Linked DNA regions of Homo sapiens: all the other regions are linked to region 1. Evidence: promoter capture Hi-C in 16 types of primary human blood cells and fetal thymus (Javierre and others, 2016). All regions are on one chromosome and are shown on one strand. Each heading gives the region's core, a stretch centred on a gene start or on the middle of the fragment in contact. The rest is flanking DNA. Distances are from core to core; before and after follow the strand shown. Region 1 holds the start of SLC5A9 (solute carrier family 5 member 9). Region 2 overlaps TRABD2B (TraB domain containing 2B). Region 3 overlaps SPATA6 (spermatogenesis associated 6). Region 4 overlaps SPATA6 (spermatogenesis associated 6). Region 5 has its middle 15 kb from the start of TRABD2B. Region 6 has its middle 19 kb from the start of LINC02794. Region 7 overlaps LINC02794 (long intergenic non-protein coding RNA 2794).

Region 1 (3,422 bases), core at 375-2,874:
AGATCTGCCAGCCTCATTCCCCACTGTCCCTGTATCCAGCTCACCCCCAGGGACCACTGGGCACCTGGTCCATCACATTTTCCTGATGTTTCTAATGCTGCCCCTCCTGCATCCCTGTTCGTCTGATAAACTTGCCTTTAAACGTGTATATGAAGGACTCTTCCTCTGGTATCTAATCCTAACAGGTGCTAGATCCCACAGAGCCCTGTCCAGCTGGGGACTATGCTGACCTCTCTCCCAGATCAATATCCCTCTCCTCGGGGCTCAGCCTGGCCAGTGCCTGATGTTCTGGGATAGGAGAACTGGGGAGAGAAGGCCTAGGACCCTGCCTCTCACTTTTCTTTCCACCAAAAGGGGAAAAAAGAGGATCTGGTCCTCACACCCAGCCTTGGGATACTTATAAGATGCTGGGGATAGGGTGTGGGACAGGGCCAGTGAGAGCTGGGGATGGGGTGTGGGACAGGGCCAGTGAGATCTGTTTTCCTGCTGCTCCAGTCTGGGCCCTACAGCAGATGCATGCAGAGTAATATTTGTAAGACTGAAATATTCCAAATGCAGCTACTTTGGAAGGACCATGTGAGCAGATATCTAAGTGCGTGGCATCTGGGCCCCTTGGCTAGATGGTGGTCGATGTTGGTTTCTTTGTGTTAACCCCAAGAACATTCAGTAGCTCAGGGTTTGCAGAGGTTCTCAGGAGCACATCTTAGCCTCATTGGTGGTGTGAGGCAGGCAGGGCACAGGTCACACTGATGAGGACACCCGGGCCCAGAGACATTTAGCAACCTGCCCAAGGGCATCTGTAGTTCAGTGAGAGGTGGAGCTGGGACTGAAATCTAGGCTGCCTGAGTCCCAGAGATGGTCTTCCCTGGACCCAGGGAGCACTGTATCTTTTTCAGGGAAGGCCTCCTGACCACAACCATTTCATCTGTCACAGTACAGAATAGGAAGTATGGGTCAGGCATCAGAAGATGTGAATTCTGGCTCTGCCTTTTCAGAGATGGCCCTGCCTAGTTCCTTGGAATAAATGATGATGTCTTCCCCAGCCTCAGTTTCCTACACTATATAAAAAGAGAAAGCAACATCTAGGTAGGTTGGAATGGGAGTACATGAGGTGGTGGCCACTTTGCTAGGGTCACAGTAGACTCCTCACCTCCTTCCCCTTGTCTTCCTCTCACTAGGTAAAAGACAATTGTATTGAACTCTTAAGAAAATTGGACTCCAGTCCCGGCTCCACCTTTACTTCCCTGGGCCTTGGTTTTCCCACCACACAGGAGTTTGAACACTTTGATTTCTGAAGTCCTTCCCACCTCTGGGGTTCCAATATTCTGCTCCTTTTCTCCTCTTCCTCCTCCCCCTCCTTTCTCCTCCTGCTCATCTGGGGTTAGGGAGATTGCGTGTATGTGTGTGCCTGTGTGTACACATGCATGTATGTGTGTGCACGTAGTGGCAGCAAGGAAGAGGAAGGAAGGAGTCCTGCAGGGGTTGGTGGTGGCAGTTGGGAGAAAAGGAGGCAGGACTGTATGTGCCAGCAGGGCTCAGAGTTTTCTCACCAACTAATGGTGCTTGGGGCAGTTTAATCATTAAAGGAAAGGAATGAAGCCAGGAGCGCCTCAAAGTCCAGCCTGCTGTTGACCAACACTAACAGATGAGCAAGGAGCTGGCAGCAATGGGGCCTGGAGCTTCAGGGGACGGGGTCAGGACTGAGACAGCTCCACACATAGCACTGGACTCCAGAGTTGGTCTGCACGCCTACGACATCAGCGTGGTGGTCATCTACTTTGTCTTCGTCATTGCTGTGGGGATCTGGGTAAGTGGGCCCTGAGGCTGGGGCTAGCAGGGGAGGTAGTAGTGGTCTCTCAGCTTGGGTGGGGCTGTGGAGCTGGGGCAGGGCTAGGCAGAAAGAAGCAGATCATAGAACCATGTGGCTGAGAAGGAAGGGCCTTCAGGAATCAGGCTCCTGATCTCCTCATTTTTAGAAGGGCAGAGAGGGGTGTGGCTGGTCTGAGGTCACACAGAGAGTCAGAGGCAGACCAGGCCCCCGACTCCTGACTCCTCTCTGAGCACCTGCTGCCTTTGGCCCCAACCATCCCTGGTTGCCCTGAGCCTCACTCCTTCCTTCTTCCCACCCCAAGGCCCCCAACTCTGAGAACTCTTGACCCCTGGCCCTACCTCAGTCCTGCATTCGTTAGCATCTTGGCTAAGGTGATTTCTAAATGAGAAGGGGCTCATGTGCTCTCAGGGAAGTGTGCCAGGCTTATTCCAAGGTTCCTCTGTTCTCCATTGTTCCCAGGAGCCTCAGTGCTAGAGGCAGGGGCCAGGCTTTGGGGTCAGGGAAACCTGAGTTCAGGTCCCAGCTGCAACAATGAGAGCCTCATGTCCCTGGGAACATATGAGGCCTATCAGCTTTCTCAGGTGAACAATGAGAATAAGGACTATGCTGTGATCATTCAGCAACAGGACATACTGCAGCACCTGGCACGGTGCCTGGTGCCCGATCAGCAGGCAATAAATGGCTGCTATTATCACCACGCATTCCACAGAAGTGTGAGCACCTTTAGACTCTGCTGTGATTCAAGTCCCAGATGGTCACTTCCTAGGCTGTGGCCAGGTCAGAGACCCTCTCTGAGCCTCAGTTTCCTCATCTATAAAGGGGGGTGAACAGTCCCTGCCTTCTAGTGCTGGTGTGAGGAAGAATTGGGCTAACAGATGGTCACTGGCTCCTGGAAGTGGCCAGCCGAGAAAAGCACCAACTCCTCTGTGACTTTGGACAAATTGCTTCCAATGTTGGGCCTCCATTTTCACATCTGTAAAATGGATCTGTTTTGCTCGTATGGCCTCCAAGAGGATCAGAGCTGACAAGGAAAATACAAGCAAAAGCTTAACAAGCACAAGGCCCCACACATATTTATCACTCCCTCGTGACTGATTATTTTCCCTTAGGGGAAAGTCAGAGAACTGTTGGCTTTTGCATCTGAATAGCTGCTTCAAGTTCATCCTTCCCTACCCACTGCCCTGCCCTCACCCTGTATCTCCAGAGAATATTCCAACAGGCTGCTAACTGACCACCTACTGGTGTAAGACAGGGAGGTCCTGGATGGGGCTCAGTGGCGTGATCTGATTTCAACCCAGGGCAAGGGAAACTCCAAAACAGTACCCATAACTCTACTCAGGGCTCAAAGTCTCACAGTCAAACTGCAGCCCTCTCTGTCCTCCCGCCTCCAGTGTGGGAGCTCAGCTGGGAGCAGGGAGGGGATCAGCTCAGAGAAAGGGTGAGCACTACACATCTAAGGAGGTGATAACAAATCATACTCTGAAAGCGCACTTTGGGGAGGGAAGGATAAGGGGACAAGAGTGCACAATCAATGGCTTCACACACGTGACATCCGTTACCTCCTTTGCTCTTCGCACTGGCCCTGGGAGAT
Region 2 (3,422 bases), core at 533-3,032, 250 kb before region 1:
TACCCACCTAGACAGAGATCATGGCTCCTGTCTAAGACAGCATTACGCAATAGCTGGTGTTCAATAAATACTTGTTGACAGACTTTACTGTGGAAGTAATTCAACACAAACCAAGAGATGCTGATTTAGTGGCAGCTGGGATAGGAAAAAATAAATTGCTATGGGCTGGACACTAGGAAAGGCTAGAAGGTATACAGTTCAATGACAGGCACACAGGGCCTGGGCCAGCAGGGGGCAGCCCCCGCAGCCAGGTCTCTGGCAACTGGTGTGCACTTTACATCCAGGGTCCCCAGCCATGCACACTTGATATTTGCATCTCCTATTTCAATAGTATGGACTACTGGGGAGAAAGGGGGCATGGGAATCAAGAAACAGGGCATTATTCTAATCTCACCAGGTAGATGATGTAACCCGAAGATGCCACTAACAATGTTGCCAACAAACGAATTCCAGGAAGCTTCTCTAATGAACCACATAGTACTTGAAATTTTACAAGTACTGTGTGTATACTCGTACTTGCTCCTCCTCCAGCCTCCCCTAATTTCAGTGAATGGCACCACCATGGACCAAAATGTGCAAGTGCCACCCCAGATTCTTGAAATCTCCACAAGCAACCAACAGTCATGTCTCAGCTTCACCTCCAAAACAGAGCCACACCTACCTCACTCCTCCCCAGGTCAACCACTAGTGTCTCCCACCTGAACTATTCTAATAGCGTCCATGCTGGCCTCCCAGCTTTCTCTATTCTGTTCTCCAGGAAAGTCCATTTTGCATACCACAGGCAAAGCAATGTTACATTTAAAAATTTAATTAGGCCGGGGCCGGTGACTCACACCTATAATCCCAGCACTTTGGGATGCTGGGGTGGGCCAATAGCTTGAGCTCCGGAGTTCGAGACCAGCCTGGGCAAGATAGTGAGATCCCATCACTACAAAAAATACAAAAATTAGCTGGGTGCGGTGGAATGTGCCTGCAGTCTCAACTATTGGGGAGGCTGAGGTAGGAGGATAGCTTGAGCCTGGAAGGTCGAGGCTGCAGTGAGCCATGATCACACCACACCACTGCACTCTAGCCTAGGGAACAGAGTAAGATTCTGTCTGCATCTCCTCCAAAAAGTAAATTAGATCACCTTCTGCTTCAAACCAATGACTTCCACTGTTGGAATAAAATCCAAGTACTGTCCTATTACCTGTAGGCCAGGTGAGATCTCACCTCATCTCCTCTCTGCTCCATCTCCTGACATGCATGTCCTGTACATGCATGGCTCCAGTTACATCCTTTCTGTCCCTTAAGCAGCCTCAGGTCCTTGGCACGTGCTGTTCCTTCTACCCAAAATGTGCCTTCCCCAGGTGTTCATGGCTGGCTCCTCCTCATCCTTCTGGATTCAGCTCTTAAGGCACCTTCTCCCCAAACCCCAAGGACACCAAGCATCTGTCCCCATCCAAACCCCACCCACTTGCAGCCTGGTCCCTCTCTAGCCTACTGATTTTTGTTTTTCATTATACCCTTATCATGACCTAAAATTATTTATTAATTCATTGCTAAATCCTCACTGGAATAAAAGTTCCATGCAGGAAAAATAAATCTTTTATGTTTTGTTCACCACTACATTTTCAGCATCTGTACCAGTGCCCAGTGCAGACTGAGCCTTCAAAACGCACTTGTTAACGACAGAGCAGTTAACTCCCCACTTTTTAGGAATGGGTTGTTCACAGCAACTCCTTTCCAATGTGTGCAGTATGAAAAGATGGAGGGAAAAAAGGGTACCTCTATAGTGGAGAAACCTGACAAATACTACTTCATCCAGGTGATCAAGGTTAATATCAACAGTAATAAGTCATGTTGCTAGCATGTACCTTTGATATGATGTGAGGAGAATAGCACTTTGCCTCTGTGGCCTTCCTCCCCAAAACACACAATTCCACTCTAATTGTAAGAAAAACATCAGACAAATCCCTATGGAGGGACAGTGCTCTTCAAAACTGTCAAGGTCATCGAAAACAAGGAAAGTCTGAGAAACTGCCACAGCCAAGTGGATTCTAAGAAGGGATGATAAGTAAACGTGATACAGTACCCTGGATAAGATCCTGGATTAAAAAAATAACTTTAGGGGAAAACTGAGGAAATCTGAGTAACATATGGACTTTAGTTAATAATGATGTATCAGGTTCATTCATTATGACAAATGTACCACATTAACATAAGATGCTAATAACAGGGGAACTGGGTGTGGGGAGCTCTCTGTACTATCTTCTCAATAATTCTGTAAATCAAAAACTGTTCTAAAATTAAAAGTTTATTTAAAAAACATTTGTTAGGTGAATGAATGTGCAGTAATAAATGCTGCACATATATTTTCAGGTCTTTTTGTAAGCATTTACTGAGCACAGGGTTTAGCATGATACTAGAAAACAGACGAATTCCTGAAGTCTGTTAAGCACTGTCTGGGTCATACCATTTGCATCATTACTTTGTGCACCTGAAACATTGTAAAGGCAGACATTGGTTCACCCGAAACTGAACCATCAGTGGTTCTAAGTGAGGAAAGTTGGGGTCAATGACAAAAATAACAAATCTTGCCCTTTTTGAGGATGAATTCAGTTATCTCACTGTTCTCAAGTCCATTCAGCCACAAGCACTGCTGAGGGCCTACTGCACACCCAAGCCTGGGTTTGGCTTAACAGCCAGCTCTTGTCCTAGAGCGGCAAACACAAATCTGGCCAAACACAAGACTCTTCTAAGGGGTCAAATGAAGCAATACAAACTATAAATGGCAAATATGTTCAGAGAAAACTGATCATGGAAGTGGGGTAGTCAAAGAGGCCTTCCTGCAGGAAGGGCCAGGCTGGACCTGAAATAGGAAACAGGATTTGGAGTGACAAGAGGAAGGACAGAGGGCACCCCAGGGTAAGCACAGAGTCCAGAATTAACTGCAGATGGTAGTCTGAGTACAGCTGTGGGGTTCCCTAGAGGGGCAATGGAAAAGGAGGTTGGTAGCTGAGCTGGGGCCAGACCAGAAAAGACCTTCCAGACCTTCAAGGTCCCCTGCTTCATGTTCCTTTTCATGTGTCATTTGCATTCTTGTCCCATCTCTCCTACTCCACCTGTAAGCTTCCTGGGGGCAAGATCTTTTCCTGCCTAATTTCTGCCTGCTCTAAAAGGTCTTGCACTTAGTAATGGCCCAAAGGAATATCTGGTGAGTGAATAAAACAGAGAATTAATCAGTGAATTATAATCTAAGAAGCCAACCTTCTACCCCTTACACACTGGGAGGCCTGCAGGGTTTGTAGAAAAATCCAGGATCAAAATGACATTTCCTCCACTATCTCCCCAACCCCTTCCTTTGCTTGTTTTCATTCAGCATTTATCTCTCTCTGACTTCTTATTAATCATTTGTGTACTTTGCATACTTGTTTCTTATC
Region 3 (3,422 bases), core at 324-2,823, 240 kb after region 1:
CAGATAGAGCCATACATCCAACAAATGAGATTATATATTATTTTAAGCAAGTAGAGAGCATTTACAACAATTGGATAAGTATCAGGACACAAAGGAAATAACAAACATAATAACATAGAGACCTTGTTCACTAGCTATGATGGTTAATTTTATGTATCTACTTCACTGGGTTAAGGGATACGTGAGTAGCTGGTAAACATTATTTCTTGGTGTGTCTGTGAGGATGTTTCCATAAGAGATTAGTATTTGAATCAGCAGATTGAGTAACAAAGACCACCCTCACCAATGTGGGCAGGGATTATACCATCTGTTGAGTGCAAGGATAGAACAAAAGGTCAGATTAAGGGCAAATGTGCTCTCTCTCCTTGAGCTCGGACATCCATCTTTTCCTGCCCTGGGATAACAGAACTGCAGGTTCTCAACCCCTCAGACTCCAAGACTTACACCTGGTTCTCAGGCCTTTGTACTCAGATTGAATTACATCACCAAGCTTCCCTGGTTCTGCAGCTTGCAGACAGCTTGCAGGCAGCATATCATGGGACTGCAAAGCCGTCATCAAGTGAGCCAATCCCCATAATAAATTCCCTATTAAATAACTATATAGTATATCCTATTGGTTCTGTTTTTCTGGAGAACCCTAATACATGACCCCAATGCAATTCATTAAAATACCACAATAAAAGATAATATATATGTATATGTGTAGGTATGTATGTGTATAGGTAGGGGGGAGAGTATGAGTATGGGAGAGTGTTACACACACGTAAATCTTATGCATCTTGGAATTAAAACAAATCCTAGATAGTTCATAAGCTAAAGTAGAAATCATAATAAAAATTATAAAATATTTAGAGCCAAATGATTTTAAAACATTATCAATAGCTTTGAGATGCCAGTTAAACAGCAACTGGAAGCAAATCAAGTGCCTTAAAGGCAGATATTACAATGAGAAAAAATATTGCAAATTGCAGAGAAGTGGTAAATACAAAATTCAGGATACCGATTGGCCAAAAAGAAGAAGGAAAAAGGGATTTTATTAGGCAGAGATTTACAGGATGCTTCACCTGGATGGGTACACAGGTGTTCATTAAATGTTACTCTATAACTTCCTATATGTCTGAAATATTTCAAAATAAATGTTTTAAAAATAAGTGAAAAAAAGTAGTTGACTCATAAAGCTAAAATCTCTCTACAAATACAAATAAAAGATCCTAAATAAAAAATTAGCCAACCAAATCCAGCAAAATAGAGTAAAAACTGTACATCCTGACTTAAAAGAACTTATTACAGGAATAGGAATAGTTCAACATCAAAAAGTGTCATTTTTTTACAGACTATGAAAGCATTATTATATAATAATTTCACTGGATTAAAAAAAAACATCCCAAATAACTCAACATTCAGGATTTTTTAAAATTAGAATAGAAGGGAACTGCACTAACTCAATAAATGAAAACCCTACAGCCAATATTCTATTAGGTTCAACTACATTTGAAATGGCTGAGGTTTTTTTAAGCCAAAAAAATGGCCCATTATCAGCGATTTCATAGGATTTGGTCTAATGATGGTGAGACTTCAGAAGCATAATTTAAAATTAGAAAAAACGACAAAGATACCTACTTTGTTATCCCTAACATTAAACACTATACTAGAAATTCTAGCCATCAACATAAAGACAAGGCAAACAAAACAAAACAAAACAAAACAAAGGATTGTACTGCAAAAGTCAAAACTGTCTATTTTCAAACAACGTCATTTTCCACATAAAAAATACAACTATTGAAATAATGTTATTTCATGTTATTTAATGTTGCATCCAAAATTAAAATATAAAATGTGCAACAAAGATATATACAAGAATGCTCATAGGAGCACAATTTGTAATATCCCCAAACTAGAAACAATGAGAATGTCCATCAACAATAGGAAGAATAAATAGTGTTATATTCATTTAAGAAGGGAAAAAAGGGCTATTGCCTCATAAACCACAAGGATAAACTCCCACAAATTGGTTAGACATAAAAGAATTCAGACCATACAAAATAGACAGATCATAGATAGATATAGCTAGATTTCAAAACTTCAAAATATATTGTAAGAGAAGTCAAGATGTGGTTACCTTTGGGAGAGGAACAGGGGTAGGTGAAGTGGCGGGAGGGAGACAGCCCAATGGAGCAATCTGGGGTTCTGATAATATTCTAATTATTGGTGATTATACATTTACGATTTGTGTACTTTATGAATATATGCTATAGTTCCATAAAAAACTTAATTTAAAAAATCAATAACGCAATAAATATATACAAGTTTGTCAAGTAAAATAATCATTTTAAAAATCAATAGCATTCTTTGTTTACCAGAAACGAAAAAATTAGAAAATGAAAAACATGCAGTACTAAAAAGAGCAAAAACAAAGTAAAATATAAACTTCAACTAGACGATCTTTGAAAATTCCATTACACATAACCAATAAAGGTTTAGTATCCAAAATATATTTAACAAGAAGAAGAAAACAAGAATACACTTTTAAAGGACAAAGGATATTGGTAGTCACAGAAAAGGAAACCTCTAGGATCCAAGATTGGAGTTAAGCAGCCACAATCCAAGGAATGCCTGGAACCATCAAAAACTAGAAGAGGCAGGAAAGATTCTCCCCTAAAGCTTTTGAAAGGAGCACCGTTCTGCTGACACTTTTATTTTGTACTCTGGCCTCCAGAAATGTGAGGGAATAAATTTCTGTTGTTTTAAGCAACTACGTTTGTGATAATTTGTTATGACAGTCCTAGGAAACTAACCGGATACCCTGAGACTCAATAGTTCCATTTCTAGATCTACTCCCTAGAGCACTGGGTCACCATTCTATAAGACCCAAAATCATCCTTTTACAGAAAATATTTTCAACTTACCTATACATATAACTAAACAATAAACCAATATCCTAATTAAAGTTTGAAAAAATACAGAAATACTTTATAAGAAAATACATATTTCTAACATGTAAATGCTTGGGCAAGACTACACTGGAAGATATATTTGCACCTATACACAGAATCTATGTGAAATGGGCAGTTTCAAACGTGAGATGATAAACATCCCACACTAGCAACTCAAACACCACAAGCAGCATTGCCTCTGGTGCCATGATTTTCCAAAAAAAGTAAACTCTTAGCAGAGCACCAAACCCAACAAAGTGTACTCTTTCCTCAATTTACATGGCAATTGCATTACTGTAAAATGCGTTTTAAAAACCTTTTAAAAAGACTTTGTGTTTATAAATAAACAGATAATTGATTATCAACTGCTATTATGTTATTAACCTCCAGTAATTATAAACAGGTTTTTCATCTACATATTCAATGAGACATTCAAGTCATGCAGGATACCGAACAATTAATACCACAGGACTCCCCAACCACTGTGAC
Region 4 (3,422 bases), core at 400-2,899, 220 kb after region 1:
AGTCAGCGAGACCAAGAACCCACCAGAAGAAACCAACTCCAGACACACAAGGACTGTCAGAATCATTTGATCTGGGGTTACTCAAGGATCTGACCATTTATAGGCTTTCCAGTTAAAGGGGTGCTAGGGTCCCCTTGACAATCTGGAGCATGTTCAATTTGTTTTTTAATAACATTTTTAATTAATAAATTTTTGATTTTAGGCAGACAGATAAGCATATATTAGTTTTGTATTTTAGACAATAGGAAATGTATATATGACTCAATTCCAGTACTAGAATAGGTAGCTGAAAATTCTAGAAGATTCCACATTGGTTCAATAATTTTCCTTACTTGAAATTCTTCTCTTTGCTTCCACTGACATACAGCCAAACTGATTATTTTGGCTTGACTTTATATTTTATTTAAATGGGTTATTTCTGTCATTTCTGCTATCATTCTGTGTTTAAATTTAAAGGCTCAGTACTATGGAGACACATTGTAGGAACATCTATGAGGTGCTGCCAGGGCATCTATTCCCCTCCTTTCCCCTTCCATTACAGATCTACGTAGTTCTTAAAAAGCTAACACATGGCTGGGCGTGGTGGCTCACGCCTGTAATCCCAGCACTTTGGGAGGCCAAGGCGGGTGAATCACGAGGTCAGATCGAGACCATCCTGGCTAACATGGTAAAACCCCGTCTCTACTAAAAATACAAAAAATTAGCCGGGCGTGGTGGCAGGCGCCTGTAGTCCCAGCTACTCGGGAGGCTGAGGCAGGAGAATGGCGTGAACCCAGGAGGCGGAGCTTGCAGTGAGCCGAGATCACGCCGCTGCACTCCAGACTGGGAGAGAGAGTGAGACTCTGTCTCAAAAAAAAAAAAAAAAAAAAAAAAAAAAGCTAACACATGTACCACCTGAACGAAAGGTAGAACATGTGTACATAGGCTATGCCAACAGCATACTACATCCCCTTTTCTACTTTGATTAGAATAAACCTCAAGACTTGATGAAAAGTATGGAACACAGACCTCTTATTTATTCTTAAGGATATGGTGGGGAAGATGTGAGGCCTGAGACCACTGCAATTTTGCTACTATAAATTTTGCTGCCATAAATTAGGTTAAGATTCAAGAAAATATAACAATTATAAATGTATAAGCAATCAAGACCGAGCCTCAAAATAAATACATCACGCTAGGTCCAATTAGGAGAGAGAAGCCACATAGGAAAAGTTTAATATAAAGAACAGTTAACTAAAACAGGGTATTCAAGGAGGAAGAGACTGTCAAGGAAGATGTAAAAAGAATTTAAAATAATATAGGAATAGCAGGTAGAAAAGCAGCCATTACCCCTAGGGCTCAGAGTACCAACAAAGAAACTCTACATAAGCCCTCTTCCCCAGTGTTGAGATCAGACCTTGTTGGAGAGGGTACAGTCTGGGCTCACTGAAAAAGAAATCACTCTACTGCCGTGCCAGTGGTATATACTGAAAATCTGCCCTCTGGAACTTGCCAGAAATTCTCCCTCTAGGATAGCAGGGAGGCTATTTACGGGGAGGTATTTCATCAGAAGCTTCACTATAGAACCATCCAAAGAGAGGCCAGCTGGGGAAAAACACTGCAGACCACCATGTATTGCAATACCTGGCCACTTGAGAAGCTACAAGGGCTTCAGAAGCCTGGTGCTGGAAAAAGTCAAATGAATACATTGGTACCTGGAAGCAAAATCTGTTCCCCTGCAGTATTTCTTCAGGGTCCTCTAATATACAAAGCTTCAGTGCCAGGTAGAGAAAAAAAATTTAAGGGTTTAAGTCAATTTCCACAGAACAGGAAAGAAGATTGAATTTGGTTAGGTGCAATAAATTGATAACCATCAGATTATATGAAGCAAAACCTGATATTAATGAAAGAAGAAATAATTCAATAATTATAATTAGACATTTAAATACCTTTCTCTTAGTAATCAGTAAAACAACCAACCCTCCCAAAAGAATACAATCAGAATGCACAAGACTTGAACATTATCAACTTAAATGACAGAAATAGATTGACATAGATTAACACAATCAATGACAGCAAAATACAGTTGACCTTGAACCACATGTTTGAACTGCATAGGTCCATTTATACACGAATTTTCTTCTACCTCTGCTACCACTGAGACGCGAGACCAACCTCTTCTCTTTCTCTTCCTCCTCAGCCTGCTAACATGAGGATGATGATGAAGACTTTTATGATGAACTTCTACTTAATGAAGAGTAAATATATTTTCTTTTTTCATGGTTTTCTTAATAACATTTGCTTTTCTCTAGCTTACTTTATTATAAGAATATAGTATATAATATAACAAAAAATATGTTAATTGACTGCTTATGTTATTGGTAACGCTTCTGGTCAAGAATAGGTTATTAGTAGGTAAGCTTTTGGGGGAGTCAAAAGTTATACGTGGCCAGGCACGGTGGCTCATGCCTGTAATCCCAGCACTTTGTGAGGCCAAGGTGGGCGGATCACCTGAGGTCAGGAGTTCCAGACAAGACTGGGCAACATTGTGAAACCCCATGTCTACTAAAAATACAAAAATTAGCCGGGCATGGTGTCACGCACCTGTAGTCCCAGCCACTCAGGAGGCTGAGGCAGGAGAATCACTTGAACCTGAGAGATGGAGCTTGCAGTGAGCCAACATCGCACCACTGTACTCCGGCCTTGGTGACAGGGTGAGACTCCATCTCAAAACAAAAAAACATTATACATGAATTTTCGATTACATGGGGAGACGGCACCCCTAACTCCCATCTTGTTCAAAGGTCAACTGCACACAATCTTTTCAAGTGCACTGGAACATCCTCAAGATCATAGGATAGGCCACAAACAAGTCTCAATAAATGTAAAAAAGTTAAAATCCTACAAATTATGTTCTCTCACCACAACAGAATTAAATTAGAATTAACTTTAGAAAGAAATATAGGAAATCCCCAAATATTTGGAAATAAGTTATTTCAAAAGAACCCATGGTCAAAGAAGAAATCAAACCAAAAAAATTAGACAATATCTTAAAATTAATGGTAACAAAAAATAACATCAAAACTCATGAAATAGGGCAAAGTCAGTGGGAAGATGGAAATTTACACCTTTAAAAGCTTGTATTAAGCTTTGCACATTGGCAGTATCGCAGCCAATGAGATTTATCCAAGGCATGATTATTGCTAATAAAAAGCTTATATTAGGAAAAAATATCTGTAATCAATCATCTATGCTTCCATCTCAAGAAGCTGCCAGCCTGGGCAAAATGGTAAAACCCCATCTCTACAAAAAAATAAAAAAAATTAGCTGGCATGGTGGCACATGCCTGTGGTCCCAGCTACTTGGGAGGCTAAGGTGGAAAAATCGCTTGAACCTAGGATGTAGAGGCTGCAGTCGGCCATGTTCATGCTACTGTACTCCAG
Region 5 (3,422 bases), core at 682-3,181, 210 kb before region 1:
ACTCGGTCTTGCCAGATTTTGTAATTACAGCCATCCCAGTGAGTGTGAAGTGGCATCTTACTGTGATTGTAATATGTCTTTTTCTTTTCTTTTTGTTTTTTTGTTTTTTGTAACAGGGTCTTGCTCTGTCATTCAGGCTGGAGTGCACTGGTGCCATCTCAGCTCACTGAAAGGGGCTCCTCATGGGCTCAAGGGATCCTCCCACCTCAGCCTCCTGCATAGCTGGGACCACAGGCTTGGACCACAGGCTTGCACCACCACACCCAGCTAATTTTTTAGTTTTTAGTAGAAATGAGATCTTGCTACGTTGCTCAGGCTGGTCTTGAACTCTTGGGCTCAAGCGATCCTCCTGCCTTGACCTCCCAAGGTGCTGGGATTACAGGCATGAGTTACTGTGCCTGGCCACTAATGATTAATGGTGTTGAGCATGTTTTCATATACTTATTTGCCATTCTTACATTTTATTTGGTGAAGCCTTTGTTCAAATCTTTTGCACATTTATATTGGGCTGTTTGGCTTTTTATTTTTGAGTTGTGATAGTTCTTCACGTATTTTGTATGCAAGTGGTTTGTGAAACATAGTTTTGCAAATATTTTCTCATGGCTTGTGTTTTTATTTTCTTAACGGTGTCTTTTGGACAGCAAATATTTTAATTTTGAAGAAATCCAAATTATCAATGGTCTTCTTTAATAATTTGTTCATTTTTTCTTCTGTTTAAAAAATCTTGGCCTAACCCAAGGTCACTAAGATTTTCTCTCCTTTGTTTTATTCTAGAATTTTTATAGTTTTAGGTTTTCCACTTCGGTCAGTGATCAGTTTTTACTTGGACCTTGTATGAGTTGTGAGATAAGGACCACGGGCAAGGGTGCCGCTGCTTCTTTTCCTCTTCGTCCTACTACTCCCTCCACCTCTCCCCTTGTTCCTCTTCCTTCTCCTCTTCCTCATCTCCTTCTTTTCTTTCCTCCTCCTTCTCACCTTCTTTTCCCCACTTCTTCCTCTTTCTTCTCATCTTCCTCCTCGTCATTCCCCCTTCCTTTTCTTTCTCTCTCTCTTTTCCTTTTTGCTAATGGATATATCTATGTCCCAACACCATTTGCTTTTTTTGTTTTTTTCACAGCATCTGGAAAAAAAATCTTTAATTTCCCTCTTTCTACAGCCCCTTGTAGCCTGGGAACAAAGACCATCAATTCTGAGATTTGTGAGGCAAATCTAGACCCTTCATTGGTTGCCTATATTTTGGATGAGTGGAGAATTCCATCCGTCGGGGCATTTGCTGCATCACAGCAGTTGCTGAATTTTCTTTAGGCAACAGAAGAACACTGTCTACCAAAGCTGGCAGTCCCTGAATAGCCTGAGTCCAGGGGAAACAGAGATGGATCTTCTGGTCACTTGGGAGTGAACTCGGCGTGGAATCTGTAACAGTGGATATGATGTAAGTCATTGGTGGGCTGGGTGATTACAAGCTTTGCTTTCACTTGAAGGTTAAGGGGATTCAGCACCCCATGATGTTTTAGTTTACTACATATTTGCCTGACAACATTTATTGAAAGATTACCCTTTCTGTATAGAATTGCCTTGGTACCTTTATCAAAAATCAATTATCATTTTTGTGTGAGTCTGTTTTTGGACTCTGTTCTGTGCCATTGGTAGATATATCTACATTTACAGCAACATCACACTGTATTACTATAGTTTTATACTTAGTCATGAAACCAGGTATTAAGTCTCTAATTTTGTTCTTCATCTTTGATATAGTTTGGACATTTGTCCCTGTGTAAATCTTGAGTTGAATTATAATCCCTAATGTTGGAGGTAGGACCTGGTGGGAGGCGTTCGGATCATGGGGGCTGATCTCTCAATAATGGCTTGGGCCATCCCCTTGGTGATAGGAGAGCTCTCGCTCTGAGTTCACATGAGATCTGGTCATTTAAAAGCATATGGTACCTCCCTTCTACTCTCTCTCTCTTTCTCTCTCTCTTACTCCTGCTTTCACTATGTGAAGTGCCTGCTCCTGCTTCACCTTCCTCCATGAGTGAAAGCTCCCTGAGGCCTCTCCACAAGCAGATGCCTGTATGCTTTCTGTACTGCCTGCAGAACTGTGAGCCAGTTGAACCTCTTTTCTTATAAATTACCCAGTCTCAGGTATTGCTTTATAGCATTTGTTTGGCTATCAAATTATTTGTATTTTCATATAAATTTTAAAATCAACTTTCTGCAAAAAGTCTCCTGGGATTTTGATAGATATGGTCATGATCTCTAGATCAATCAGGGGAGAATTTACATCTTAATAATATTGAGTCTTATAATCCATAGGCATGGTTTATCTCTGTTTAGATTTTCTGAAACTTCTCTCAGCAATATTTTGAGTTATTCAGTGTACATATCTGTACACCTTTCGTAAAAGCTTTTCCAAAGCATTTCATGATTTTTAATGCTCTTAGAAATAGTATTTAAAATTTTTCAACTTACAACAATTCCTTGAAAGTATGTAAAATACAGTTAAAAGTTGTATGTTATTCTTGGTTTCTATAACCTTGCATTTTCTGCATCTGTTGAAATGATCAAATGGATCTGTAAATAAATCCCCTCTTCTTACTCTTGCTGCTAGTAATCTGACTCTTCTATTTTTTGTTTTTCCTGGTCAATCTGGTCAGAGGTTTATCAAATTTATATCTTCCCAAATAACAAGCTTGGGCTTTACTGATGTTCTCCATAATTTTTCTCCATTCTATTTCCCCGTTTTCTGTTTTAATTTTCGTAATTTCCTTCCTTTTCTGCTTGCTTTGGTTTTAGTTTTCCCTCCTTGTTCTCAAGTTTTAAGATGTAAACTCAGGTCATTAATTATCCTTTCTTTATTTCTAATATATGCCTTTAATTCTACATATTTTTCTTTATCTGCATTTCATAGATTTTGGTATTTGTTTTTTCATTTTGATTTAATTAAAAATACTTTGTAATTTCATTTCTGATTTCTTCTTTGTCCCATGGGCTATTTAGAAATGCATTGTTTAATTTGCAAATTATTGGTTGTGTTCCAGATTTCTTCCTGTTATTCATTTCTAATTTAATTATCTTGTAGTCAGAGAACATACTTTGTATGATTTTTATCTTTTTGAATTTATTGAGACTTGTCCTATGGCACTGAATAAGATTTATCTTAATAGATGTTCTGTGGACCCATGAAAAGAATGTTTATCTGTTGTTTGGTGAAATGTTCTACAAATGCCAATGACATCAAGTTGATTATAATGTTTTTCAGGTTATCTTAATCTTATTTTTTGTCTACCTAGTCTATCAATTATTAAGAGAGGAGTGTTGAAGTCCCAAGTATGATTCTGGAGTTGTCTATTTTTCCTTTCGCTTCTGTGAGTTTTTGCTTCATGTTCTTAGAAACTCTACTATTAGATACATATACATTTTGG
Region 6 (3,422 bases), core at 566-3,065, 190 kb before region 1:
GGCTTCATGCAAACACGATGGCTTTGTTCCCCTGTGTGAAGATGAGACATGCAAGTGAGTTCTGAGTAGAAAGAGCTTCTTCTCTCAAACCCCAGGCTATTGTAACTTTAAAATTTATCTCAAATCTGTCTCTTTTGGATTTTTTTTTTTAAGATGGAATTTCACTCTTGTCACCCAGGCTGGAGTGCAGTGCGATCTCGGTTCACTGCAACCTCCACCTTCCAGTTTCAGGCGATTCTCCTGCCTCAGCCTCCCAAGTAGCTGGGATTACAGGCACATGCTACCATGCCTGGCTAATTTTTTTTAGTAGAGACAGGGTTTCACCATGTTGGCCAGGCTGGTCTCGAACTCCTAACATTGTGATCCCCCTGCCTTGGCCTCCCAAAGTGCTGGGATTAGAGGCGTGAGCCACCACGCCTGGCCAATCTGACTCTTCACCATTCACATCACTACCTCCCAGGTCCAAGCCACTGTTGTCTCTTGCCTAGTCTGCTGCAGTGGGCTCCTAACTGGCCTCCCTGCTTCCAGCCTTTCCTACTACAAACCATTCTCTACGCAGCAGCCATGGCATCTTCTTGCCATTATAAATCAGATCATGTCCCTCCTATGCTTAAAACCCTCAAACAGATCACTCAAGCCCAGGAGTTGGAGGCTGCAGTGAGCTATTGTCGTGGTACTGCACTTTAGCCTGGGCAACAGAGCAAGATTTTGTCCCTAAAAAAAAAAAAAAAAAAAAAAAAAAAAACTCTCAAATAGCTTCCAATTACAATCTTTACCATGTCTTAAATCACCACTCTTGCCTGTCTTCCTATTGCCACATCTTCCACTCTGTCTTGTTCTCCATGATCCAGCCACAGTAGCCACTTTCCTGTTCCTTGAACAATCTAACCTTAGTCTGTCACTTTTGTCTTTGTACTCCCCTGGAAGGCTTCTTCCAGATCCTCTCAGGGCTGGCTGCTTTCATAATTCAAGCTCAAATATCACTTCTTGGAGAGGTCTTCACTGACCATTCTACAGAGTAGCCTCTGTTATATCTGCTATTCTATCGTTTTCACACTAATCATCTCTATACCAAGAAATTTTGTGTATTTGCTTCCGTATTTCTTTTCTGGTGTCTCCAGCTACAATCGAAGCTCAGTGATGGCAGAGATGATGTTGACTCTCTTTGCTGATATATCCCCAGTGCCTCTAGCACTCCTGGTGCTGAACACTTGATAGATAAATATCTTTGAATGATTGCATGGAGTGGCATCTCAGCATACAAAACTTTATGGGAGAAGGCCTTTGTGGGCTTTCTGGGTGAGCCATAAATGATGGGTAGGATTTGCATAGGCGGAGAGAATCAGAGCAGGTATCCCAGGAAGCAGGCTTGGCAGGGAGCGTGAGTTGAAGGATTGGAAGGAGAGAAGAGTACAAAAGAGAGCACCGCAGCAGCAGGGAGGCTGAGTGCCCAGCAGAGACAGAGATAAAGTTAGTTCTGCACCTAGGCCAGAGGCAGGGGTGGGGGACACAGGTGGTGGGGAAGGGGCAGGCTCTGGATGCCCTTGAAGGCCAGACAGGAAAGCTCCTTGTACCTTTTCCCTCTGCCCCCTGCCCACCTCTGCACGGTTTCCAAATCCATTCCCTGCATCTTTCTTTTTTGTAGGCATATGGTATTATTTCCAATTGAAAATGTAGATGGGAGTCACAGGAATGTATAGAGTCACATAATAAATGGAAATGAAGCTCACCTCTGCTTAGGCTGAGCAATGTACTTGCCAATAAGGGGTCCTTGCCAATACGGCTCACATAGAGAAGCCAGGGCAGGATTTGTCTGGATGGGTAGGAATAGCAAGTCATAGAATCTTTGCCCACAAATGGGCTTAAATGGAATCCAGCTACAGAATCCTTGAGTCACACACTTTCAGAACACAGTGCTCTACAGACTCGCAGAGGCCATCTGGTCCAACCTCCTATGCCCTTTGGCCTCTTGTCCAAAAGGCCATCAGTTGCTCCTGGCACACCTCCAGTGATGGAAAGCTCCCTGCTCATGTCACCGAATGGCCCTGACTCTCAGAAAGCCTTCCTTTTCTTCATATGGAAATGGATCTAGTTTCCCTAGAATTCTTCTCCCCAGACTTCTCTCTGTTTCTGGGGCTGCCCACTCTGCCCCCAGGCAGCATGGTGGACATATAATGGCAGCTGTCACATCCTCCAGGGCTTTCTGGCCAGACCCACACTCTGGGCCTTCCACTGCCTCCTCAGTGTGGCTTCTGGGCCCTCCCCATGCTGAGCACCTCCTCCAGGCTTGCCCTCCTCATCATCACTCTGCTTCCATTACTTTGAGGAACATCTTCAAAGCAGGGTGCCAGGTACCCCTGGAGGCAACTCCTACTTCGAGACCACACACATCATTGCTGGTGGGAATATACCATAGTACAGCTGCTGTGAAAAACAGTATGGCAGTTACTCAAAAACTTAAACATAGACCCAGCAATTCCGCTTTTTAGTATGTACTCCAAAGAATTAAAAGCAAGGACTCAGACACGTATTTACCAATGCTCATTGCAGTGTTATTCACAATAGTCAAAGAGTTGAAACAACCCAAATATTCATCAATGGGTAAATGGGTAAATTAATATGTGTATATACATACAATGGAATATTATTCAGCCTTAAAAAGGAAGAAAATCTATCATGTGCTACTACATGGATGAACCTTGAAAACATTATGCTAAATTAGCTAGACACAAAAGGACAAATATTGTGTGATTTCACTGTTATGAGGTACCTACAATAGGCAAATTCATGGAGACAAAAAGTAGAATAGTGGTATGTGTGTGTTGGGGGTTAGTGAACAGGGAGTTATTGTTTAATGGATACAGAGTTTCTGTTTGGAATGATGAAAATGTTCTGGAAATGGATAATGGTGATGGTTGCGCAACATTGTGAATTTTTTTTTTTTTTAAGAGACAGGATCTCACTCTGTCACCCAGGCTGGAGTGGAGTGGTGAGATCATAGCTCACTGTAGCTTCAAAATCCTGGGATCAAGTGATCCTCCCACCTTAGCCTCCTGCGTAGCTGGGACTACAGGCATGCACCACCGTGCCTTGCCTGGCTAATTTTTTTTTTAGTAGAGGTAGGGTCTTGTTATGTTGACAGGCTAGCCTTGGAACTCCTGAGCTCAAGCAATCCTCTTGCCTTAGCCTCCCAAAGTGTTGAGATTACAGATGGGAGCCCGCCTCGGCCTCCCAAAGTGCTGGGATTATAAATATGGTAAATTTTTAAAGATAGATTTACCTTAATAAAAACATTTTTTTTTTTTGAGACGGAGTCTTGCTCTGTCACCCAGGCTGAAGTGCAGTGGCGCGATCTCAGCTCACTGCAAACTCCACCTCCCGGGTTCACACCATTCTCCTGCCTCAGCCTCCTGAGTAGCTGG
Region 7 (3,422 bases), core at 310-2,809, 160 kb before region 1:
ATAGGTGGTTAAGAGGGAGTCTTATATCCCCACCTTACCCTGGGCTTCTGGGCCCGGGGAAGGGGCAGGTTGAGAAGTCAAAGCCTGTATCTTTCTCTCTTTCTTTCTGAGATCCCTAACACAGACCTGGGCATACAAATGGGGTTTGGCAGGAGGAAATGAGGCTGCATTGCACTGTATCAATTGGCCATGATGCAACCCACAAAAAAGACTGAGAACAGTTGTTCAAACACAGGCCTATAGGCCAGTGATCTTGCCTGTAGCAACCTGGGCTAGAGACTGGGGATCAAAAGCAAGGGAGGTGCTGCTGACTGTGAATATAAACAGGTTCAAGAAGGGCTTAAAGAAATTCCTAGATGACAGATCCCTAGCAGGTAACAGGTCATTAATAACCATGAAAGATGATGATGGTAATAATAATAATAATTAATAATAATAGCTTCAAGGGAGCTTTCATACTTTTAAAAGCTTTTTTCCTACCAGTGTCTCATTAGATACTCACCACTGCTTTGGGGAGGGTGTAGATGCGCAGAAAGGTGAAAGGACTTGCCTGAGGCCACACAGCTTGTTCAGGTTGTTCAGGGCAAAGCTGGCACTAGATTCAAGGGGCGTTCCTGACTCCTTCCCCAGGACTTTCTTTGAGGGTGGGGTAAACTATTGATAGGAGATATTGGGTGTGTCCTGAGCCTAGAGCCTCATTCCTGTCCTCCTCTTCCCATTTCAATGGCCCCAGTCCTGCATCATCATACGGTTCCCGTAAACCCTTCATTCTAAGGTGTTCACCGTGGACAGCAGAAATCAGCGTCCTAGCCCTGTCACTGATTTGTCATGTGACACTGAGCAACAGTCTTCTGCTCTCTTCAGTTTTCCCATTTGTGCAAGGTGATGGTTGGATATTCTGGGAAGTTAACCTTTCAGATCCACTGATTCCTCTTGGTAAAATGGGATGGTGGAAGTACCTGTCATGAGGTGTAATTGACACATGCATGTAACCAGCTTAGCAATATGCCTGGCACAGAGTGAGCACTCAACATATGTAAGTTTTGGGCAATATCTGAGAGAATAGACCCCAAGGTGAGACACTCCAGGTTGTTATAGAACAGGCTGGGGAGAGAATTGTGTCGTCTTCGGGTGGTTGGTCTGCTGTTCCCCTGCTCAAGGGTTTTCAAGCTGGGTTCTGTGGACCCTATGGGCTTCTGGGGAGTCTTCCTCAACTTTCATCTTTGCAATGGTCCCTTAAAACATTTTTGGTGATCTGTATTCTTACTAGAATCTGGAAGGGGCTATTCTGTAAGCGGAGTGAGGCTTTAGAAGTTTTGTGAGTTCACCAGATGCATCCCATCTTAACTGTGTGAGAACATTTGTTCTGAAGCTAGTTTATCTTATTCTATCCTCGCATTGTCCTGTAATTTGCTCTTGAGAGGAGCACTTGTTCTAAATGACAATCAAGGTCCCCCTTGGAGAGTGAAAGGGGCCAGTGCTGCCACCTACAGACAGAAAGGTGATTAGATTCATTTCATAAAGAGCCTGGTTAAAGAGCAGCAGAAAAAGCAAGGAGAGCTTTTGTCAACAGCCCCAAAAGTCTCCCTCACCTTATTACCCTACTATTTAAAAATCTATCATGTTTACCACTATTATCTTCAGACATCTTACATTAACAGAAATCACTGATTGCAAACCAGGATGCATATAGTGCCATTTCCATTTGGGGGGCCACCACTGGAGCCCTGAAATCACCATGGCACCTTGTATAAGAGATGAGATGATTCTGTATCCATTTATTGATTGGCTCAGTACATATTGTATCATTGCTTTAGTACTGGATCAAAATTGTGAAGGTCTTGTATCTTTGCAGAATTTGCAAAACTTTGGCTTAACAGATTCCATTGGGATGGGATAATCTAAATGTAAGTACCAAGAATTGACCAAATGGGGAATTCTTACTCTTGAGGTTTAGTGAGCTCACAGGAGTTTCCTCCAGAGTTTTCTTAGGCCAGTAGGCAGATGCAATCTGTCCAGTGTGGGGAGCCAGGAAGAGAGATCTGATCTCTGCAATTCAGGGCTCATGGTGAATTTGAGATTTACTGCCAACTTTCCTTGGCCACAGAGATTGTGAACAGGAAGTGAAACTTGGGCCAGACAGCCTGGGGGTGCAGAGCTAATATAGACTGAGGAAGGCAAACATGTATAGATCATTCGCAGGGCAACCCATGCTAAAGCATCACTACAAATCCACTTATCAAATGTTTTCTCCATTCATCAAAGGAAAAAACAGGAGCTCAGAGTGGGGAACTGCCCTGTGCAAGGCCCCCAGCAGATGGAGAATGGAGTCAGGACCAGAATCCAGGCCTTCTGACTCCTTACCATATGCTTTCCAGGGAGACTGGCCTCCTAACCCTTCATTCCCTGTAGACAACCTGACATTGCAGGTCCTTCTCCACTTCAGAGTTTATAGCTAGTTCTCTTGAAGACCCACCTGAAGTAGCAGTCATGGATACAGACACAGGACAAAGGTTCAGGAGCCCCCAGAGTTCTCTCAAACATTGTCTCTACTCAGATGCTCCTGATGCCTCCTGTTCACAGTAGGTGACCTCCTGGAATAGGGCCTGGCTCCCTACCCAAAACTCCCTTTCCTGGAGGGCTATGGAGATGAAGCTTAATCTTTAATGAACTGGCTTTCAGTTTAACGGCTCCCTTGGCAATGATTAATACCCAGTGACCTAGTCTGGCATCTAGTGAACCTGACCAGGCCTGACTCAGGAGAGTGTTGGTGGCCTTCAGGCCCAAGTGTGGGCTCATATGCAGGTGGAAGAGGCTTGACAAGTGCTGGAATGGCTTCCTACCTAAGAATATATTCTCTGTCCTGTGCCTGAAATTCTGTTATTTAGGTGGTCATTCCTCAGACGTAGGGTATCACAAATGTACCTGGCAAGAGGAGCTAGTCACATAAGTTGTGTTTCAAATACTCCTTGGGCTGTCGTTTGGCAGTTCTGGTGTCCAGCAGCTCAGAAGAATTACAGGATTCATGACTTTTAATCCCAGGTTAGCAAGCTGATGAAATATCACCGGATCTGCAGTGAAATTAGACTGTAAGCTTCTTGTGGGCAAAGACAAGGGTCTGGAGATGTATAGGGAGAGAACACAGATTTGGAGCTGGAAAGGCCTTGTTGCAAAGTCCAGCTCTGATAGTCACTAGCTGTGAGGACTTGGGCAAGCCTCCCTAAGCCTCAGCTTATTTGTCAACCAAATGGAGAAAATAATACCTCTCTCTAGACTCTTCAGAGAATGAAATGAGAAAGTATATGTAAAGTGTCTGATTATTACAGAGACACAGACTTAAGCCAGGCACAGATGCTGTTCCTTCCTTCATTTTCTCTCCTCTTAAGTTTGACTTAGCTGACCCTTTGTAGTGAGGAAGAGAA

What was found. The method cuts DNA at HindIII sites, captures the fragments that hold promoters and counts their contacts. A CHiCAGO score of 5 or more calls a contact.
Region 2: a contact is called between a fragment that was not itself captured here and the fragment with the promoter of SLC5A9 in region 1, in 1 of 17 cell types (neutrophils). The highest score is 5.0, in neutrophils.
Region 3: a fragment that was not itself captured here is called in contact with the fragment with the promoter of SLC5A9 in region 1 in 2 of 17 cell types (neutrophils and monocytes); the score reaches 9.4 in neutrophils.
Region 4: a fragment that was not itself captured here is called in contact with the fragment with the promoter of SLC5A9 in region 1 in 1 of 17 cell types (neutrophils); the score reaches 5.0 in neutrophils.
Region 5: a fragment that was not itself captured here is called in contact with the fragment with the promoter of SLC5A9 in region 1 in 2 of 17 cell types (monocytes and neutrophils); the score reaches 5.7 in monocytes.
Region 6: a fragment that was not itself captured here is called in contact with the fragment with the promoter of SLC5A9 in region 1 in 1 of 17 cell types (neutrophils); the score reaches 5.0 in neutrophils.
Region 7: a contact is called between a fragment that was not itself captured here and the fragment with the promoter of SLC5A9 in region 1, in 1 of 17 cell types (monocytes). The highest score is 5.1, in monocytes.

Annotation. Positions count from the first base shown.
Region 1 is chr1:48,221,092-48,224,513 of GRCh38, forward strand. It overlaps SLC5A9 (solute carrier family 5 member 9), which reads left to right and starts at 1,625. Exons shown (of 14, transcript NM_001011547.3): 1 at 1,625-1,807. The coding sequence starts at 1,646. The HindIII fragment of the contact is 4,425 bases long and covers 1-2,875 here.
Region 2 is chr1:47,973,009-47,976,430 of GRCh38, forward strand. The region is part of intron 2 of TRABD2B (TraB domain containing 2B); the gene reads right to left. Among named protein-coding and RNA genes, the nearest start is that of TRABD2B, 23 kb to the right of the region's middle. The HindIII fragment of the contact is 2,654 bases long and covers 456-3,109 here.
Region 3 is chr1:48,462,628-48,466,049 of GRCh38, forward strand. The region is part of intron 1 of SPATA6 (spermatogenesis associated 6); the gene reads right to left. Among named protein-coding and RNA genes, the nearest start is that of SPATA6, 7.9 kb to the right of the region's middle. The HindIII fragment of the contact is 2,171 bases long and covers 489-2,659 here.
Region 4 is chr1:48,444,811-48,448,232 of GRCh38, forward strand. The region is part of intron 3 of SPATA6 (spermatogenesis associated 6); the gene reads right to left. It also overlaps the pseudogene RNU4-61P. Among named protein-coding and RNA genes, the nearest start is that of SPATA6, 26 kb to the right of the region's middle. The HindIII fragment of the contact is 199 bases long and covers 1,551-1,749 here.
Region 5 is chr1:48,010,374-48,013,795 of GRCh38, forward strand. No RefSeq gene overlaps it. Among named protein-coding and RNA genes, the nearest start is that of TRABD2B, 15 kb to the left of the region's middle. The HindIII fragment of the contact is 941 bases long and covers 1,462-2,402 here.
Region 6 is chr1:48,028,925-48,032,346 of GRCh38, forward strand. No RefSeq gene overlaps it. Among named protein-coding and RNA genes, the nearest start is that of LINC02794, 19 kb to the right of the region's middle. The HindIII fragment of the contact is 7,414 bases long and covers 1-3,422 here.
Region 7 is chr1:48,059,883-48,063,304 of GRCh38, forward strand. All of the region lies in intron 4 of LINC02794 (long intergenic non-protein coding RNA 2794), which reads left to right. Among named protein-coding and RNA genes, the nearest start is that of LINC02794, 12 kb to the left of the region's middle. RefSeq lists an enhancer at 1,159-1,703. The HindIII fragment of the contact is 2,187 bases long and covers 467-2,653 here.